Regions from separate parts of the Homo sapiens genome. Here all the other regions are linked to region 5. The links are contacts of gene promoters, found by promoter capture Hi-C in human tissues and cell types (Jung and others, 2019). All regions are on one chromosome and are shown on one strand. Each heading gives the region's core, a stretch centred on a gene start or on the middle of the fragment in contact. The rest is flanking DNA. Distances are from core to core; before and after follow the strand shown.

Region 1 (3,056 bases), core at 237-2,736, 660 kb after region 5:
ACTTGCTGGTTCTGATTCAGAAAAACAAAAGAAGAAAAGGGAATAAAGTCATCAATCCACAAAGCCTTCAAGAACTTTTATAATAATGGAAAATGACTTCTCTTGCATTTTTCATAAAATGAGTACAAATAATAACTGCTATTGATTGAACCCCCACTCAGAGCCAGGGGCTGTGCTGGGTGTGTCTTAGACATTGCCTCCAATTCCCTAATCCTCCCAACAGCCACGCATGGCCCTACCTCAGGGCCTTTGCCCTTGATGTCTCCTCCGACTGGGAAGGTTCTTCCTTCAGACACCCACATGGCTAACTCCCCTACATCTTTCAAAGCTCCACTTAAATGTCAGCTCCCCAGAGAGGCCTTCCCTGACCACCACTCCCTGAAATAATGTCCTCCACATTCTTGACCTCCTTCCCTTGCTTTTTCTTTCATCACCTGATATACGTATATTTGTTAATTGTCTATTTCTCCCTTTTAGATTTTAAGCTCCCAAGGGCAAGGATTTTTGTTTCATTCACTGTGGCCTCCCCAGCACTCAAAACAATGCTTGACACAGGACAGAGTTCTTTTTTCTTTTTTGAGATGGAGTCTGGCTCACTTGCCCAGGCTGAAGTGCAGTGGCACGATCTTGGCTCACTATAACCTCTGTCTCCTGGGTTCAAGCGATTCTCCTGTCACAGCCTCTGGAATAGCTGGGATTACAAGTGCACGCCACCATGTCCAGCTATTTTTTTTTCTTTTTTGGGGGGGTATTTTTAGTAGAGATGTGATTTCATCATATTGGCCGGGCTGGTATCCAACTCCTGACCTCAGTGACCCGCCTGCATCGGCCTCCTGAAGTGCTGGGATTACAGGCATGAGCCACCGTGCCTGGCCCAGAGTTCTATAAATATTTGTTCAATGGGTGGGTGATTCATCAGTGGGTCTCATTAAAAAATGTGCAGAAGAGTGTTAGGGAGATAAAATCTCTTTCCCAGGCATTACACAGCCAGCAAAGAGCAAGCTGAGATTTGAATTCAGCTCTGTCTAATTCTAAAGCTCTGCTCTTTTCATTAAGGACTTTGTTTTTCTTCTCCAAAGAACTTATTACCACTTACATATTATTATTATTATTTTTGAGACGAAGTCTTGCTCTGTTGCCCAGGCTGGAGTGCAGTGGCATGATCTCGGCTCACTGCAACCTCCGCCTCCCAGGTTCAAGTGATTATCATGCCTCAGCCTCCCGAGTAGCTGGGATTACAGGCATGTGCCACCACGCCCTTGTATTTTTAGTAGAGATGGGGTTTCACCATGTTGGTTAGGCTGGTCTCGAACTCCTGACCTCAGGTGATCCAACACCCCCCCCCCCACCCCTCGGCCTCCCGAAGTGTCAGGATTACAGGCGTGAGCCACCACGCCCAGCCCACTTACTTATTATTTATCTATTCATGTGTTTAATGTCTGTCCTTCCCACTACAATGGCAGCTCCACTGAGGGCAGAGTTCATCTGTTCTGTTCACAGCTGAATCCCCAGCCCCAAAACAGTACCTGGCACCCAGGAAATGCTTTATAAATATACGCTGAATGAAGGAAAGAAGGTCTGGGATATGGGAGGCTGGAGGTGTTCACACCCTTGCTGGGTCTCTGACTGGGTGAGACGGTGGGGAGCTCCAAGATGTTTTCCACTTCCCCAACCCCTCCCACATACAGACTTCTTATTCACTCTTGGAAGCAATGCTGCAAGGGAAGTATTATCCAAACCATTTTACAGATGGGGAAATTGAGGCTCAATCAGAGAAATGATTTGCCTTTCTCAAGGTCACCCAGCTAGTAAGTGTCAGAGCTGGGATTTAAACCTAGGTCTCCAGAGTTCACTTGTCATGCAAAAGGGACCCTTAATGCTTGCTAGCTCTGCCCACCCAAAGGCAATAGCTAGAAGGTCCAGAAGGTCCAGTCACAATCTATGCATTTCCCCATCAAGGTCAGGGGTGTCAGGACCAATGTGAAACTCATGCTTAATTCACAACTCCCAGCTTTGTCCATTTAAATGAAAACTTTCATGTTATTTTAACCAAAATCCCCTGTCGACTTCAATGAAAGCTTTGAATCCATGAGGAAGGTCAGAAAGGGTTTTTTGGAGGTAGCACAGGCGCCCAGTGGAAATCATATTAGCATATTCATTATCATCAGGGCCCTTTGAATGTGTTTTTGAGCTGTTCCCTTCAAGTGACTGGAGACAATGGCTCCTTTCTGTTCACAAATTCCTGGGCTTGAAGTGGGCTGTGGCCAGCTCCTGTGTGCTTCTCTGCACTTTCCAAATGGTCACAGGGAACCCGTGTCGCATAAGGTAACAGGGAGGATGTCATCCACCAGGAGTGCTGGTGGTGAATGAGGCTCTTTGTCTGGGTTTGGAAGAAATATCTCCTCAAGTCACTTAGGCAGCTATGGTGGACCCCAAAGATGGGCTCAGGTAACAAAATATGTTGTTAAACTGTCTTCTAAGGAGGCTGGACCCTATTAACAGGAGATCCCTGAGTGTGGCAGAGTCAGGGCTGGGTCTGGGGTAACAAGGTAGTTGCTCAACTCTAGAAAGTGCCAGGATCACCCAGGGAGCATTTAGCAACCATCAGTGCCCAGCACCACCTCACCAGGCCATCTGGACCCAAATCTTGGCGAGTAGGGGAGTAAACAGGCATCAAAGGTTTGTAAGTGTCCCCAGATGCAGACAGGCAGCTAGTAAGCAGAGCAGAATGGCTCTCTCCTCGAATCAGAGGGGAGGAGAAAAGAGAAGTTGTGGGTGGGGTATGGTGGGGAGGGAGGGCTACAGGAAATCCTCTGGGCATGTGTCGGGAAAAGAGAACTTCAGGGGAAAAACACTCTTTTTTTTTTTTCTCTCTCTAAAGAAAATTCTCAAACTACAGGAAGTGGAGAGAACAGTACAGTGACCCTACACGCTTGTTACCAGCCTCACCTGTCACCCACATGGAGTCCTTCCCATTTGTGGGGTTTCCAGGTGTGTGCCTGTCCCAGGGAGGCCACGTGCCCCTGCTGCCCCAGAACCTTCCTTCTGTAAAGCCC
Region 2 (2,706 bases), core at 121-2,620, 600 kb after region 5:
AATAGTTTGGTGGCCCTCGGAGGCACAGGGTCATGCAGCAAGCTGGCACTAGAATATTTCAAGCTCGCAGTAATGAAAGCAAATGGCAATTTGGCGTGTCTTCAGGCTTGAAAGCCGCAGAGCAGTGTTCAGTCATCAGCGGCGGTTATCACCCACCGATAATGGAGGCTGCTGCTCGGGGCCCGGTGAGGGAGAGGAGGGTTCAGAGAGGTTAAGTGACTTGCCCAGCATCACATGGCCGGTAATGGGAGGGCAAAGTCCAAGGTGCAGAGTTTGGCCTTTCCCCCTCCCCCAAGGCCAGGCCGCTCCCCAGAATGGATCATCTCTGAGCATTTTCTGAGTGCTGGTTTCCATAGCAGCAAGGCCGTTCCTGCACAATGGATCCCCATCTTTCCCCAGCTTTGCTGCTGTGGGGGCTGCAGGGGTGGGGATGCTTGGTCTTGGGGACTGCTGGGGTGCCAGTAGGAAGGAGCTGGACAGGCCATTTGGATGATCTTGGGGCCTCCAGCCTTTACAGAAGGGCCACACCTGTTCAGTGTTTTCCATTTCAGCTCTGGAGTTGGGTCCACTTCCAGGTAGAGGGTAGGGAGAGAGAGGACAGAGAATGAAATAGGAAAAACACCAGAAACAGAGAATGGGAAAGTCAGAGACAAAATAAATTTTACAAAAGCCAAGACAGAGAAAAGGTGTTTGCTTTCCAGACAAATTATTTCATTTCATCTTTACAACCTTGGGAGGTAGTTTCTGTTTACTCCAAATTGACAGATGAGGAAACTGAGGGCAAATGCAGTGCTTCTCAAAGTATAGTTCAAGAGCCAGCCTGGGAGGTCACAGGGTGAAAGGTTTTGGAGAGGACAGTGGTTAAAATGCAGATTCTCTCACCCCATCCTGGACCTATAGAATCTGATTCTCTCCGGTGGAACCAGGACTCTGCATTTAGCCAGTTCCCCAGGAGAAATTTCTATGAAGTTTGAGAGTATCCACAGTCAGGAGGGTTGCCCTGTGCTATGCTGAAGTTTATGCAGCACATAAACTCAGAGCCAGGATTTAGGACCCAGAAGGGACCAAGATAGAGAGGAAAGTGACAAAGAGAAGCTTATATGCCTCAGAAGAGATGGCAAAGAGCAAGAGAGAGAAATAAGACTGACAGAGAGACACATTGGGAGAAGTCCTCTGAGCTAAGAGAAGGAGGAATCTGGTAGGACCAGCGTGTACTTTTATGGATTATGGATTGCCTATCACTGTAAACACAGCCCTCACTTAATCCTCACAGCAGTCTGATGAGGTAGGTCCTATTGCTCCCATTTTCTGGATAAGGAAACTGAGGCAAGGAGAACAAAGGGGAAGAGCCTAGCTTTGACCCCTGGTGGCCTGGCTTTGGAAGGGGTCACAGCTTTAACCACCAGGCTAGGCTGCCTCCTAAGCAGAAAGCTCAGGGACTCAGACTTAGACTCCAAATTTTTCTCCATCGCCCTACCTGTGTGACTCTGGGAAGCTTTCTGTGCCTCAGTTGCCTCACCTGCAAAATGGTGATAACAATACCTGTGTCAAGGAGTTCCTGTGGGGCCTTGTCTGAGACGGTACAAGAGCGCAGAGCAGTACCTAGTGCTAGAAGTGCTCCGTAACAGTTAGCTGTCAGTAAATACCTAGAAAGTCCAGGAAGCACATAAAAGTTTCTCACAAATGGTGGGTTTCTTGAGGCCTCTTTGCCCTGAACTGGGGCAAAGGATGGTGTCTTAGTCCATGTTATGCTGCTATAACAGGATGCTGCAGACTGGGTAATTTATAATGAATAGAAATTTATCTGGCTATGATTCTAGAGACTGGGAAGTCCAAGAGCATGGAGCTGGCATCTGGAGAGGGCCCTTGGGCTGCATCATCCCATAGTGGAAGGCAAAAGGGTAAGAGATTGTGCAAGAGAGAACAAGAGGGAAGGGTGCTGAGCTCATCCTTTTACCAAGAACCCAATCCCACGATAACCAACCCACTCCCATGATAATGGCATTAATCATTCCTTAAAGGTCCTACATGTCACCACTCTTGCACTGGGGATTACATGTCCAATATGTGAACTCTGGGGGATACATTCAAAACTTAGCAGAGGGGAAGAGGCTCCCAGTGAGTCTTGCTCTTCTCTGAGTCTAGAGCAAACCTACCAAACACAGAATCATTGATGACACAGAGACAATGGCCCGACTCATGGCCCTATCTGCCACTCTAAGCCATTGGACTCCTGTGAGCCTCACCAGGTTACACAGGGAAGCCCCAACCTGTGACTCACAAGAGCTCACTCCCAAGTCTGCTCTGCCAGATGCTACGGTGGCTCTGGTTGTCACTATTATGTGGACTATTATGTCTACTGTGCACCTGCCAGATATCCTCTGGGTACATTGGTGCCATACCTTCACCCTGTGACTGGGGCGCAGGAGCCCTGGGGATGCCCCACTCACCCTTCCAGGCAAGAATGAGTCCTCCCATTTTACAGATGAGGTAACAGAGGCTCAGAGAGGCAAAGTGATGGGCTGTGGGACACACATCTGGAAAATGGTACAGTCAGCACATACACACGCACACATCTGGCTGTGCTCTGGTTGCCTCTAACAAGCATTTATTGAGCCCCTGCTGTATACCGAGCATTTGTGATATTTGTGAGCATAGTCATTACCTACATCCTCTCATAGGCTGGAGGCAGCGTAAGAGGAAGGA
Region 3 (2,961 bases), core at 387-2,886, 710 kb after region 5:
CTTTGTTGCCCAGGCTGGAGTGCAGTGGTGTGATCTTGGCTCACTGCAACCTCTGCCTCCCAGGCTCAAGCGATTCTCCTGTCTCAGCCTCCCAAGTAGTTGGGATTACAGGCGCATGCCACCATGCCAGGAGACAGGGTTCCACTGTGTTGACCAGGCTGGTCTCAAACTCCTGACCTCTAGTGATCCACCATCCTCACCTCCCAAAGTGCTGGGATTACAGGTGTAAGCCACCCCACCTGGCCTTTGTGTGTAACTCCTATAACATTCGTGTAATGATCTAAATTAGTGTTTATCTTTCTCAAAGTTACATGTACACACTAAGAGTCAAATAAATAGTTATATAAGTTTTACATATAAAAATTGGAGTCTCCCTAACATCCAACCATATTCTATCTCCCAGAAGCAACTATTCTCAATTTTTAATAGATTATCTTAGACTTTTACTGCCATATCTCATATAACATGTTCATATTGCCACTTCTTCATTTTTCAGTATTAGGCGTTACTTTTGACTTCCCACAATTACAGATGGTAATATAATGCTCCACCATTGCTGACTTAATGCCACACGTGAACACTTTCTATTCCCCATCAACTGAATATGATTATATCATAATTTGGGATAATTTAAGAGTCGATGTCTATATTGTAATAAGTGTTTGAATATTCTTACTTTCTTTTTTTTTTTTTTTTTTTGAGATGGGGTCTCACTCTGTCGCCCAGGCTAGCGTGCAATGGTGCAATTTTGGCTCACTGCAATCTCTGCCCCCTGGGTTCAAGCAATTCTCCTGCCTCAGCCTCCCTAGTAGCTGGAATTACAGGTGTGCACCACCACGGCTGGCTAATTTTTGTATTTTTAGTAGAGACAGAGTTTCACCATGTTGGCCAGGCTGGTCTCGAACTCCTGACCTCAATTGATCCACCCACCTCAGCCTCCCAAAGTGCTGGGATTACAGACATGAACCTCCCCACCCGGCTGAACATTATTTCCAGCTGGGTCTGGTAATATTCCTAGCTTTTGCTTATGTTCAGTCTCTCCTGTGTATGTTTGTGTAATCACCACTATAGTCAAAATACAGACAATTCCATAACCATAAAGGTCTCCCTGGTGCTACCTCATTATAGTGACACCCACCCTCACCATACTAAGTCTCTGGCAAATGCTAACCTCTTCTATATCTCTGTAATTTTGACAATGTTATATAAATGGGATCATACAGTATGTAACATTTTGAGTTTGATTTTTCACTCAACATAATGCCTTTGAGATCCTTACAAGTTGTTGCATATATAAATAATTTATTTTTTTATTGCTGAGTGTTATTTTATTGTATGGATGCATACTGTTTGTTTAGCCATTCACTTGTAAGACAAGTTTGTCTTACACTGGTTGTTTCCAGTGTTTTGCTGTTACAAATAAATCTGCTACAAACATTTGTGCACGGTTTTTTGTGTGTACATAAGTTTTCATTTTTCTGGGACAAATGCATGGGAGGGCAATTGCTGGTTCATGTAGTATAGTGAGTGTATGCTTAGTTCTTTTTAAGAAGTTGACAACCAGTTTTATAGAGTGGGTGTATTATTTTACATTCCCATTTTCAATGTATTAGATATTCAGTTTCCCCGCATCCTAGCCAGCATTTGATATTGTCACTATGTTTTACTATAACTGTTCTATTAGGTACATAGTAATAATATCTCATTATGATCTTAATTTGCATTTTCCTGATGGTTAGCGATGTAAGCATCTTTTATGTGTTTATTTTCTATCTATATATCCTTGTTGATAAAATGTCTCTTTATGTCTTTCACCCATTGTGATATTGTGAAATATATATTTGGTCTTCAACCCTGTTTCCTGCCAAACAACCCCTAAAATCCTTAGACTCTCCAAAGAGATGTCTTTTTGTGTCTTAATGAATTGACTGATGGCTGGGAGCACCTCCGTAGCTTCAGGATGGCGACTGGTCACCTGAAGAGTAAGTCGATTAAACGATTTAATCAATTATGCCTACATAATGAAGCTTCTGTAAAAACCCAAAAGGACTGGGTTCAGAGAGCTTCTGGACAGCTGAACACATACAAGTTCCTGAAAAGTGCTGCACCTGCGGACGTCATGGAAGCTCCGTGTCCCTTCCCCATTCCTCTCCCTATGCATCTCTTCATCTATATCCTTTATAATAAACTGGCAAACTTAAGTGTTTCCCTGAGTTCTGTGGGCCGCTCTAGCAAATTAATTAAACACAAGGAAGAGGTCGTGAGATCTCTGATTCATAGCCAGTGAGTCAGAAGCACATTCCTTGCAATTGGCATTGGAAGTGGGGAGAAGTTCCATGGGACTGAGTGCTCATCCCCGTGGTGTCTGACGTTACCTCCAGATAGATAGCATCAGATTAGAATTGGATTGAGGACACCCAGCTGGTGTCTGCTGCAGAATTGATTGCTTGCTTGTTGGTGGAGAAGAAATCTCCCACATTTGGTCACAGAAGTCTTCTGTGTTGATTGTTGCTATATGAGTGCAGAGGAAAAACAGTTTGAGTTTTCCCACCTTTACCCACTTGTAATGGAAGTTTTTGTCTTGTTTTGTTGTTTTTAACTGTTGAGTTTTGAGAGAGATATCCTAGATTTGAACCCTTTGTCAGATGGGTGGTTTGCAAATATTTTCACCCGGTCAGTAGCTTTGTTTTCATCCTTAACATGGTATTTTGGAGAGCGAAAGTTTTAAATTTTGATGAAATCCAACTTATCAATTTTTAAAATTGATCATGCTTTTGATGTCAGGTCTAAGAATCTGCCATCGAGCCTTAGATCCTGAAGATTTTCTCCTAAACATTTTATAGTTTTATGTTTTATCTTTGAACCTACGATCTATTTTGAGATAATTTTTGTATAATGTATGGTATGAGGTTTCGGTTGAGGTTCATTTTTTGTTTATGGATATCCAGCACCTTTTGTTGA
Region 4 (2,850 bases), core at 188-2,687, 680 kb after region 5:
CTGAGCCTCCATATCCCACCCACCTGCCCTTCACACCCCAGTGGAGCCCAACGGTTAGAAATTCAGGCTCTCCTGGTGGTCTTAGGTTCAAATTCTGGTTCTGCTGGGTGGACCTTGATTCACCCTTTGTGTGACCATTTGAGCTTTGATTTTTTTTCCATCTGTAAAATGGAGATAAGAAAATCAGTTTGCACAGGGGGCTGGGTGAAAGGTGCATAAATCTTAGCCAAATGCTTACTGAAGCATATACTACACTGTATTATAATGATCTGTGTAAATGTTCATCTCCATATCTTGAGGGCAGGAACTGATACTGATTCTGATGTATCTCTTTGCCCCTAGCACCCAGTATGGCTTAAAATAGGTATTAAATAAATGTGGAGTAAATGAATAAAAAATGAAATAAATGGATCTTAGAATCCTATTCTCATAATTTGATACATAAAACCTAAGGACCTCATGTCACATAACTGCAAAGTTTGAAGGATCTTAGAGATCAACTTCCGGAGGTGTTCAATCTTTTTGACTATCACCCACACTTAGTAATATACTTTATATTGCCACCTAGTGAGTGCACACACGCGCACACACACACACAAACACGGACGCGCACACACACACACCCCGAAAGTTTCAGTGGACAGTTCTTGCCTTTCCTATGTGGGATAAACTCACATAATTCCTCTTCTTTTCTCTTTCCTCGCCTCACCTCCCCTTCTATCTTCTAACTTTTCCCTTCTCCTCCTTTCCTTCTTTTCTTTCCTCTCTCTTCTATCTTTTCCGTTAAAAAAAATTGCTAGTTTAGGTCCGCTAAATCGATTTCATGCCCCATGAAGGCATTGTGACCTATGGTTTGAAAATCACTTATCTAGTCGAATTAGACTCCTTGTCCAGCATCTCTAACTGGAGTTCTATACTTATACTTCCCTGATGAAAGGAAGTTCCCCCAAAAGATAAACAGTTTTGTTACTGGACAGCATTTATTGTTAGAAAGTTCTTCCTTCTCTTAAGCAGAAATGAGCCTCTTATAACTTCCTTATTGGTCTTAGTTGTTCCTATCTAGCTTGCTGGTCTCTCTGTAAGTTATCAAGCAAATCACCTCATCTCATTGAGTTTTCTTTTCTTCTCCTCTTCCTACAGATGTGCCCCACCTAAGTGCTGACAGCCTAAAAGTCCACCATTAAAGCCATTCTTCGGGTTTAAGGCATTGATCTTCACCATCATCTCCCATTATTATATCTGCTTGCTCTCATGGAGACAGGGGTCACTGGGGCCAGTCCACCTGTAGTGGCTGAAGTCTTCATCTCCTGCAGCAGAGAAGTTTGTTGGGACTATGTAAAATATCAAAAGAGGGTTTCTTTAACCCTTAAATCTCTTTTGCTTGTTTTCTTTCCTCAATGGCTTGGATCTTCCCAGTGAGATGCTCAGTGGGGTTAGCAAATAGCATTTTGGAAATCACAACCAATATTGAAGGGTGAAATGGTATGTTAGCCTTTAACACCTTAGTCTAAATTTTCCCCTGCCAGTCTCTTCCATCACTCTAAGATCAGCCAGGAGAGGGGAATTCTAATGCTAGCCCTCTATAGGGTCTCCTCAGGCAAGAGGCAGTAACCAGCCTTCACTCCAAGGTAAGTGTCAGATTCCTAGGACTGAAAGATTCCCTTGGCCCTATACATCCAAACTCTCTCTTCATTCATTCATCGAACAAGTATTTGTTGAGCATCTTCTGTGTGCTACACCTTGTGCTAGGTGTTGCGGATACCATGGAGACCAAGAGAGTCCCCATTCCTGGCCTCCACGGTGCACGCAGTCTAGCAGTAGTGACAATCACCAATGGTAAGAAGGTGCTCTGCTAAGGTCAGGAGTTGAGGGAGCTTGGAGCAGGGTCTCAGCTCACTGTGTGCTGGAGTCAAGGGAAGGCCTCCTGGGGGCGGACATTTGAGCTGAGACCTGAAGGACAAGGAGCATATGGCTGAGTAGTTCATCTCTCCCTGGCTTCCCTCCTTCTCCCCAGCCCCCAATCCAGGCAGCATCAATGCCCCCATCAAGTCATCTTCCTGAACTCATCTGGGTCACTAGCTTAAATCAGCAGTTCTCAAGTTTTAACTCAGTCAGAATGCTGTTTTGTTTAGTTTGTTTAACTGCAGATTTTAGGACCTCTGTAGGATTCTACATCTGGGGTAGGACTGTGTCTGCATGTCAGTCCATGGCTCATATCTTCGGAAATCCTGGTCTATATCAGAATTCCACGGTTTTGGTATTTGCCCTTGACTATTTGTTCAGCTTCTGAAGGAAAGAGGAAAAGGAAGTTCAGGAATGCCAAGGTTGTCTTTCTGGGATTGCAGAGTCTGGGGAGGCATTGGGAGGGTGGCGTTGGTGACAGCAGGGACTGGGGAGTCCTCAGAGGGGTCCAGCAAGGGCCCTCAGTCCTGGCACCCAACAACCTGAGGGACCTCCCAACAGCCAAATCGTGCTCCTGCCTCACCTCACAGCAGTAGACCAACGGCACATGGTAGCACTGGCCACATAATTAGCAGAGCATGTCCCAGAATAATTAAACGTTTCAAAACAGTAACAGCAGAGCAGTAAATCAAGTGCGGGTTCCTCTCAGAGTGGGGCCCTGTGCAATGCAGGGATCAGATAGCCAGCAGGCTCAGCAGTGGGGTGAGTGGAGCCCCGGCCCAGACTAAAACTCCTGGGTACAGGAAATGAAACCAAGCCTGTGAATATTCAAAGAAGAAGGATCCTTAGAGATCACCTGGCTCAGTTCCCTTCATGTCCAGTTGTAGAACCCAAAGCCCAGAGAGATGGCCCAAGCTGACCCTGCAAATTGGTGGCAGAGCCAGATCA
Region 5 (3,102 bases), core at 519-3,018:
GACAACAGAACACACCCTTTAGAGATGGTGTGAAGATGGCAAAGCACCAAGGTGGAAGCTCTCCTTGCTGGGTTTGAGGAACAGCAAGGAGATTAGTGTGACTGGAGAAGGATGAATGAGGGCAATGTTGACGGAGATGAATGAGGTTGGAGAGGAGCGCAGAGCTAGATTTTATTCCATGTGTGCTGGGAAGTTTTTGGTAAGTGGAGACCAGGACATGACATCATCTGATATCCCAGTACGTTTAGAAGGATCCCTCTGGCTGCCGTGAGAACAAGAAAGGAAGCAAAGAGACAAGTTACGGGCTCGTTCAATGATCCAAGACAGAGACGATGGTGGCTATGACTAGAGTGGACGCAATGGAGTGGGTGACAACAATCATATTCAAGATAATTTGAAGGTGGGGGCCACAGGATTTGCTGATGAATTTGATTATTCGATGGCAGAGAAAGAGAAGAATGAAATATGCTTCAAATTTGTCATTTTCTTTTTTTTCTTTTTTAATCCAAGAAACTTCGGGGATGGGGAACACTGGTGAAGTGGTTTTAGAAACAGTGAATAGAATCAAGAATTCAGTTTTCAACATGTTAAATTTGGTATACCTATTAGACATTCACATCACGCTGGCAGCTGGATATAAAGGGCCAAGAGTTAAATGAAGAGACCAAGGTTAGAGGAACAAACTTGAAAGCCTTGGGTGTATATGCTGTATTTAAAAGTCATAGGAAGGGCCCAGTGTGATGGTTCACGCCTGTAATTCCAGCACTTTGGGAGGCCAAAGTGGGTGGATCAGGAGTTCGAGACCAGGAGTTGAGGTCAGGAGTTCGAGACCAGCCTGGCCAACATGGCAAAACCCCGTCTCTACTAAAAATACAAAAATTAGCCGAGTGTGGTGGCACAGGCCTGTATTCCCAGCTACTCGGGAGGCTGAGGCAGGAGAATCGCTTGAACCGGGGAGGCAGAGGTTGCAGTGAGCCGAGATTGTGCCACTGCACTCCAGCCTTGGTGACAGACTGAGACTCTGTCTCAAAAGAAAAAAAAAAGTCATAGAAAAAAAATAAATGTCATACGACTGGATGCGATTATCAGCAAATATGGGTAGAGCCCTTATTTTGTGCTAAAGTGTTCTAGGCACTACAGCAATGAGTAATACACAAAGAGAAAAATTCACACCCTTATGGATCTTACATTCTAATGGGGAGGGGATAATAAAATAACTAACAAAAATATACAGCGTGTTAGATAGCAAGAGGGAAATACAGGAGAGATGAGGATGAGGTGGGTGGGAAGGTTACAGGATGGCTAGGGAAATCCTCACTGGGAAAATGTTATTTAAGCTTAAACCTTGAAAGAGGTGAGGGCAGCAGCCTTCTGGTATACCTTGGGGACTACCATTCCAGGCAGAGGCGAAAGCAAATGCAGAGGGGCTGAAAAAGGAGCACGTCCAGCCAGTGGAGGGAAAAGCAAGAATAGTGACTGTAGAGGAGAGAGCCGGGGAGGGTGATGGGAAATGAGGACCGAGAGGTTAATGGGAAAGGCGGGGTGAAGAGAAATGAGTGTGACACAGAGCAGCTCTCAGTACGGATTTAAGCTAGGAAGGTGTCCAAACAGGAACTTAAGGCTCTCCTTACGTCAAAGCCGGATGTTAACGCCCAGTCCCCAGGCCCCGCCTCTGCTCGGCAGAAGCTCCGCTCCGGGGCCGGAACTCCAGGGCTAGTGAGCTGGACCGGAAGTAGGTTTCTACCCGACCGCATTTTACGTGGTGCTGCATTTCCGGTAGCGGCGGCGGGAAATCGGCTGTGGGAGAGAGGCTAGGCCTCTGAGGAGGCGAATCCGGCGGGTATCAGAGCCATCAGAACCGCCACCATGGTAAGGAGGGCACAGGCTGGCGGCGCGGGAGCTTCCGAGTCTGTTGTGGAGTGGGAACCGCGACTGATCGGGGAGGAAGCCGTGGGTTGGAGCCACTTAGGGCGGTGAAGGCCTGGGCCGAGGCCGCTCGGTCTGGGCGGGAAAGACCAGGACCTTGGCGGTTCGGCTAGGCATGGGGTCGAGGAAAAGGTTGGAACCGGTGTCGGAGGCCGAGGTCGCTCGGCAGGGGCGAGGGTAGAACCGCGGCTCTCGACACCGCTGTAGCCATAATTCCTGGGACCCAGTAGGCACTAAGTTAACTTTTGCCGAATAAATATATGTCCCGGGCTTCGGAGCAGGCACTGGAGCCGCAGGGGGACCCGGTAAAAGGCTCAGACTTGCGGAAGTTTGTGAGTCTGAGAAAGAGTTGGCGGAAGTGGGTGGAAGGGGCTCGTGGACCACGCTAGAGTCTCGCTAGGTCTGCTGGATGGAGAGGAGGGCGGAGGAGGGTGATGGCGAATGGAGGAAGAGCTCCACTCAGTTGCTCATCACGTTTCCGTGTTTGCCTGTGCCTGACTTCTCAGGCGCTGGGGCTACTCTCTGAAATATGTTTGCTTCCTTCACAGAGGTAGCTGGGGACACATAATATAATTCAGTGTGGTCATTCGGTAAAAGTAACGGCAGCGGGGCGGGGTAAGAATGTTTTCTCAAATAGATGGTTCCTGAGCAGATTCCTAAAAGATTAGCAAGAATGTTCCCGGCGAAAATGGGGGGAATATTACAGACCCGGAGAACTGAAGGAACAAAGGCTGAAGGGTAACAAGATTTAAAAAGTTACTGGATTTTTCTGCGTTTGTTGACTGAGAAAAAGTTGCTGGAGGAGAAAGGAAGAAAGAAGGGAAGACGGGAAGAATTGGCAGGAGGCTAGTTACTAAAGGCCTTGCATGTTAATTTTACCTCAGTGGTGGTGAGGCATGTCATTGAAGGATTTAATTTAATTTATTTTTATTTTTTTGAGACGGAGTTTTGCTTTTGTTGCCCAGGCTGGAGTGCGGTGGATCGATCAGGGTTCACTGCAAACTCCACCTCCCGGGTTCAAGCGATTCTCCTGCCTCAGCCTCCCAAGTAGCTGGGATTGTAGGTACCCGCCACCACACTTGGCTAATTTTTTGTATTTTTAGTAGAGACGGGGTTTCACCATGTTGGCCAGACTGGTCTCGAACTCCTGACCTCAGTTAATCCACCCACCTTGGC
Region 6 (2,784 bases), core at 243-2,742, 570 kb before region 5:
TATAGAACAATTATCTCCTTCTAGTCTACTAGTGACTTTGGTCTTTAACCCAAGTGCTTTGTAAATTGTCTAGAATCCTCCTGGGAAATAGGAAGGATAGCAGACAGCACCCTGCTGTGTGCAGTAGGGGCACTGAGAAATGGCTGGGGGTGCTGTGGCAGGGGGCATCTCAGTGGTGTTTCATTCTCCCCACCCTCCCAGCACCCAACCCTAAGCCACAATGGCCTCTGATGACCAGTGGCTGGTCTTGATGCTGGGGACCTCTCACCCTACTCACCAGCAGTGTCCGTGCCAGGTGTCGCTTCCTGTGAAGGGACCACTGGGCCGTGGTCCTGCCCTCCCAGGGCATGCTGTCGTCCAGGGGAGCCAGGGCATCACTTGGGAGGCCATGGGCAGTCTGGACTGGGCTGCCTGCTGCAGTGTCCAGGGCCCTTCCTTAGAAGGGAACTGATGCTGTCCTCCCTACCCCGACCTCAGGCTCCAGGAGGGTGGGGGAGCCCCCGGCCATCACTTTCTTCCTCCCCATGAGGCTGGGAGACACCCACCTGGGGGCCTAAGGGCATTCTGGGGATCCTGGGCTGAGCTGAGGGCTCGCTTTCCTCCAGGGTACCAGCCATGGGACCAGTGCTGAGCCTCTGAGGGTCCAAGGTGGGCAGTCAGCAGCAGCAGGAGCAGGAGGCCTCGCCTGGAGCTGGCCATGGCTGCTCTAATGGACAGGGTACAGCATTCAAGGAGACTTACCTCACCCCCACATCCCCCTACTTCCTCCAGGGCCACTTTGGAAAACTGGCATCTCAGGGGCAGCTTTGGTATCTCCTTATGCCCTTCCCTCTCTGCCACCGCTCCTCATCCCAAGCATACAGGGGTCCAGATCCTGGGGGATCCTGGCCCAGCAGGGGATGATGCTCCAGGGGACGAGCCTTCTCCCTGAGCCTGGGGCACAGAGGCTACCTGCCTTGCCAGCTCTGAGGGCCCTCCCACTTGTCCAGGTCCATCCATCTTTCCTTCAAGGAGTTTCCAGAAGTGGAAGAAAGTTGGAGGGGAACAGAGACCTGAATTCAGGCCAATGGATGGGAGGATAGATGGATGGTCAGGGGAGTTCTCAATGTAGGCGTGTTTGGAGCACCAGTGCTAGGGAACCAGAGTTGCAGGCCTTCTGCCCTTTTCTCCGTGGCCTGCTGTATCTCTTCCATAGTAGTTGGGGATGTGGAATGGATGAGTGGTATTGATGGGGGCAAGTGCTTCTACCCCTTATCCCTCCCATGCCAGGGGCAACAAGCACAAGAATAGATGGTAGAGCTGTTGGGGAGAGGAGAGGAAAAGGGGACTTCTCTGGCATGGTTCAGGGGTGGAGGCACCTGGGAATGGGGAAGAGGAGCAGCACACCATACGCCCAGGATGAAACTTGGTCCAGGTGTCCTAGCCCTTAGGGAAGGCTCCCCACTCACCAAGGAAGAGCTGTGGATGAGATGGCTCCTTCAGGCAGCTGCAGGACCCTAGCCTGATGGCCCCAGGATTTATAGACCAGGCAGCTCCACCCCCAGACTCCAGTGACGTCTTCAGAGGGGAAGAGAGAAGCTCACCACCCAACCCGCTTCCCAGAGCATCCAGTCCATGAACATTCACCAGGCAGCTGCTGCCCTGAGGCCACCGACACATGCTCCCTCCCCACCACCTTCCCAGGAGCCTTCAGGCCCAGGACTCTTGCTTTAGGCTGGCCTATGTCCTGGTCTCACCTTCCCACTTCCCAGGCTGCATCTTCAAGCTCCTGATCTTGAGACCTAGAAAGCCCTCACAGCCTTCCCTGATCCCAAAAGAGAATTGTGTCCTGGGCAGGGGCAATGCCTGGGGGCTCCCCAACTCCCAGCTCAGGGCTTTCCCTGGTGGACAGTGGAAGCCTAAGAGTAGGGAGCCTGGCAGGCTGTTCAGAGGTACAGGGGAGGCTGTGACCACTCTCCCAGAGGGCTTCCGTTTGCTCACTGTAGAGTGGGTTGGGTGGGACAATTCACATCCACACACCTGGGAACCAGGGCTGGGTCACTCCAGATGGCTGGGTTTGGGTGGGGCAGTACCTACCCCGGAGTGGCTTCTCTCCTGGCGAAGAAGCGGGCCCATGAGATGGGGCCCAGCTGTTGGGCCAGTGCAGTCTCCCTAGGTAGGTAGAATAATTTTGTCCCTCAAGGCTCTAACCCCTCCCCAGTCATGGATTTGGACACAGCTAGCCTGGGCTGCTGGAAGTGGGCTCTTGCTTCCCAGTCTGCGTCAGCAGCTCAGCTTTCCTTGGCCAGCCATCAGCCTCTGGGGGTCAGAGGCCTGTTTACAGGGTTCATAGCCAATCTCCGCACTTGGGCTGAACAGCAAATGGGAGGGCCAGGGTCATTTGGAGAGCTGGTGCGTCAAATCCTGTGACAAAGATGGGGGAGGGGAGGCATAATGGGCATCAGTCAGCCCTAGACACCTGGACTTCAGCAGCCAAGGCAGGATGGGCACACCTGTGAACTTCCAGACTGACTTATTAGCAGGGACCGGAAATCAACGTGTGGCCCATTTGTTCAGTTAAATTGTTTTGGCTTAAATATGCGGACTTTGTTAACTGGGTGATTTTTAGGGAAACATTTGCTTGTGGTTTAGTGAAAATGAATCTGAGTTCGACGTACTAGTTTAGTTCTGGTTGGGGTTTACAGAATGCTTTCTTCAAAGATGCACCAAGGCTGGTGTACCTTTAAAAGGGGGATGGTTGCCTTTATTTATTCTGTAATTTGATTCCGGCTTTTCCTGAAAAAT
Region 7 (2,760 bases), core at 157-2,656, 690 kb before region 5:
GCCCTCCTTCTTAGGGTGGTGGAGAATCACCCTGGCTCATGCTCCATAGCTCTGGCCTCGCTAAGCCCCAGCTCCACATCCATTTCTCTCAGCAGGCTCATCTATCCATCATGTCACTAGCTCTTTTCCTGAGAGCACTTTACAGATACATCTCTATTATAAATGCATTAAAAAAAAAAAAAGATGGAGTCTCACTGTTGCCCCGGCTGGAGTGCAGTGGTGCAATCTCGGCTCACTGCAACCTCTACCTCCTGCGTTCAAGTGATTCTCCTGCCTTAGCCTCCCAAGTAGCTGGGGTTACAGGTGCACGCCACCATGCCCCGCTAATTTTTTTTTGTATTTTTAGTAGAGACGAGGTTTCACCATGTTGGCCAGGCCGGTCTCCAACACCGGGGATTACAGGTGTGAGCCACCACACCCGACCAATGCATTGTTAAAATTAGACAGGTGTGGTGGTGCATGCCTGTGGTCTTAGCTACTCAGGAGGCTGAGGCAGGAGGATCACTTGAACCCAGGAGGTTGAGGCTGCAGTGAGCCATGATTGCACCATTGCACCCCAGCCTGGGCAATGGGGCAAGACTTTGTCTCAAAAAAAAAAAAAATGTATTGTTTTTCTCACTGTACAGGCTTAGAGAATTTATGTGGGCCGGGTGCGATGGCTCATACCTGTAATCCCAGTACTTTCGGAGGCTGAGGCGGCAGTATTGCATGAGCCCAGGAGTTCGAGACTAGCCTGGGCAACATAGGAAGACACTGCCATCCCCGTCTCTATGAAAATAATAATAATAATATAACAAGAATGAATTTATGTGACTTCTCCAAGGCCATAAAACCCTGAGTGGTGGTCCTCAGATTTGAACATGTGTCTAAGCTACTTACTTTTTTTTTTTTTTTTTTTTTTTTAGATGGAGTCTCGCTCTGTGTCCCAGAGCTGGAGTACAGGGGTGCCCAGACTGGAGTACAGTGGCGAGATATCGGCTCACTGCAACCTCCGCCTCCCGGGTTCAAGCGACTCTCCTGCTTCCGCTTCCTGAATAGCTGGATTATAGGCGTGCGCCACCACGCCCGGCTAATTTTTGTATTTTTAGTAGAGACGGGGGTTTCACCACGTTAGCCAGGCTGGTCTCGAACTCCTGAACTCAGGTGATCCGCCCGCCTTGGCCTCCCAAAGTACTGGGATTACAGGCGTGAGCCACCGCGCCGGGACTAAGCTGCTTAATGACTTCCAGAGCGATCCATCCAGGAAGGTGTTTTCCCTCTGCAGGTCCTAGACTCCCCCTGCCTCCTCAACAACGTCCTCCAGTGGAAAATGTCCTTGGGAAACGCTGACAGAGTCTTTTGAGCCTCGGCCGCATCCGTCACTCGCGCAGCAGGCGGAAGTAGCGGGCAGTTGGCCGGAAGTGGGGCTGTGAGGCTCGGAGTCGCCGGAGGAGCCAGTATCTGTGTCGCCGCCGCCCGCGGCGTCCCCGGTTTGGTGTTGCGGCGCCCACCTTCGGGAGGATCAGGTGAGTGGCGGCGGCCGGGGAGGAGGTCGCGGCGGCCTCTTTCCGCGTTCACGACCGTCCTGGGCCTTGGCCTGTGCCTCCTGTCCTCCCGGCCGGCCCAGAGCTGGAGCGCATCGAGGCCTTGTTCAGCTCTTGGCCTGGGTTGCCAGTGCCTCTCGCAGGCCTGGCTGTGGTGAGAACTTCAGTGACTCTCGCCGCTCCTGAGTTTGTGATCTTTGGCAGGGGGCTTATCTGACCCTTGATTTTTTTTCCTCTGTGAAATGGAGATCGTAACAGTACTTGTCTCACGGTGCTGTTAAGAGAATGTAGTCAGATATTCTGCCGCGCCTCTCATCACACTTTGATGTGCCTGCGAATCGCTTAGAGATTCTGATTCTGTAGGACTGGGGTGGGTTCTGAGATAACTGTGTTCCTAACTAGATTCCAGACGAGGCTGAAGCCTCTGGCACGCAGACCACACACTGAGTAGCAAGGCCCTACAGTATGTTGCTTAGCATTTGGGATGCGGAGTCTTCGGTAAACATCAGTATGATAGGATATATACCTTCCCCCCATTTTTAGCAGTTTCTCGTTGCACAAGCCTAAGGGTAGTATTGATGGCCTTCTCCCTTTTTCTTTCCGTGGGTAAGAATAGTTGCTCTTTCTCTTTCTGTGCAAACCGTGACACAGCTCTTCTGTCTTGACTCAGGGAACTTTGGGTCCCCTCATATCAGCTGTGTTCATCAGTCTTGGGTGATGCTTCACTGATCAGACCCTTGGACAGTGCTTCATCCTGTGGAGCTGATAGCCAGCTGCGTTAGCACCAACTGTGGCTGGCGTTTTGTGCTCCAGTCATTTGTTGCTGCTGGAATCTGAATTCACGTTTTCTACACTTTGTGAATAGTAAGAATGGCTGCCTTTCCAGAACTAGATTCTGTAGCTCACTGACCTGAATGGTCCTGGGCAAGTCCTTGGATAGTTTGCTACTACCTGGTAGACTAAAATAAAATCTGGGCCGGACACAGTGGCTCACGCCTGTAATCCCAGCACTTTGGGAGGTCAAGGCGGGCGGATCACGAGGTCAGGAGATCGAGACCATCTTGGCTAATATGGTGAAACCCCGTCTCTACTAAAAATACAAAAAAATAGCTGGGCGTGGTGGCGGGCGCCTGTAGTCCCAGCTACTCTGGAGGCTGAGGCAGGAGCGTGGCGTGAACCCCGGGAGGCGGAGTGTGCAGTGAGCCGAGATCGCGCCACTGCACTCCAGCCTGGGCGA

What was found. Contacts are between HindIII fragments. The study calls those that stand out against the background at their distance.
Region 1: a fragment that was not itself captured here is called in contact with the fragment with the promoter of SNRPB in region 5 in 3 of the 25 tissues and cell types used here (liver, lymphoblastoid cells and mesenchymal stem cells).
Region 2: a fragment that was not itself captured here is called in contact with the fragment with the promoter of SNRPB in region 5 in 1 of the 25 tissues and cell types used here (lymphoblastoid cells).
Region 3: a contact is called between a fragment that was not itself captured here and the fragment with the promoter of SNRPB in region 5, in 4 of the 25 tissues and cell types used here (dorsolateral prefrontal cortex, heart left ventricle, liver and 1 more).
Region 4: a fragment that was not itself captured here is called in contact with the fragment with the promoter of SNRPB in region 5 in 2 of the 25 tissues and cell types used here (IMR-90 fibroblasts and dorsolateral prefrontal cortex).
Region 6: a contact is called between the fragment with the promoter of GNRH2 here and the fragment with the promoter of SNRPB in region 5, in 1 of the 25 tissues and cell types used here (thymus).
Region 7: a contact is called between the fragment with the promoter of FASTKD5 here and the fragment with the promoter of SNRPB in region 5, in 1 of the 25 tissues and cell types used here (heart left ventricle).

The regions. Positions count from the first base shown.
Region 1 is chr20:1,811,050-1,814,105 of GRCh38, reverse strand. No RefSeq gene overlaps it. Among named protein-coding and RNA genes, the nearest start is that of SIRPA, 83 kb to the left of the region's middle. The HindIII fragment of the contact is 6,291 bases long and covers 1-3,056 here.
Region 2 is chr20:1,872,162-1,874,867 of GRCh38, reverse strand. It overlaps LOC124904857 (a long non-coding RNA gene), which reads left to right. Exons shown (of 3, transcript XR_007067496.1): 2 at 1,821-1,901; 3 at 2,682-2,706. Among named protein-coding and RNA genes, the nearest start is that of SIRPA, 22 kb to the left of the region's middle. The HindIII fragment of the contact is 5,779 bases long and covers 1-2,706 here.
Region 3 is chr20:1,760,682-1,763,642 of GRCh38, reverse strand. No RefSeq gene overlaps it. Among named protein-coding and RNA genes, the nearest start is that of SIRPG, 100 kb to the right of the region's middle. The HindIII fragment of the contact is 4,174 bases long and covers 1-2,961 here.
Region 4 is chr20:1,786,399-1,789,248 of GRCh38, reverse strand. No RefSeq gene overlaps it. Among named protein-coding and RNA genes, the nearest start is that of SIRPA, 110 kb to the left of the region's middle. The HindIII fragment of the contact is 9,616 bases long and covers 1-2,850 here.
Region 5 is chr20:2,469,455-2,472,556 of GRCh38, reverse strand. SNRPB (small nuclear ribonucleoprotein polypeptides B and B1) reads left to right here and starts at 1,768. Exons shown (of 7, transcript NM_003091.4): 1 at 1,768-1,869. The coding sequence starts at 1,867. RefSeq lists enhancers at 1,759-1,808, 1,819-1,868, 2,029-2,148. The HindIII fragment of the contact is 7,557 bases long and covers 1-3,102 here.
Region 6 is chr20:3,042,330-3,045,113 of GRCh38, reverse strand. GNRH2 (gonadotropin releasing hormone 2) reads right to left here and starts at 1,492. Exons shown (of 4, transcript NM_178331.2): 1 at 1,449-1,492; 2 at 546-706; 3 at 278-414. The coding sequence starts at 699. The HindIII fragment of the contact is 17,170 bases long and covers 1-2,784 here.
Region 7 is chr20:3,158,511-3,161,270 of GRCh38, reverse strand. It overlaps FASTKD5 (FAST kinase domains 5), which reads left to right and starts at 1,406. Exons shown (of 2, transcript NM_021826.5): 1 at 1,406-1,505. It overlaps UBOX5 (U-box domain containing 5), which reads left to right and starts at 1,406. Exons shown (of 5, transcript NM_014948.4): 1 at 1,406-1,505. The HindIII fragment of the contact is 11,638 bases long and covers 1-2,760 here.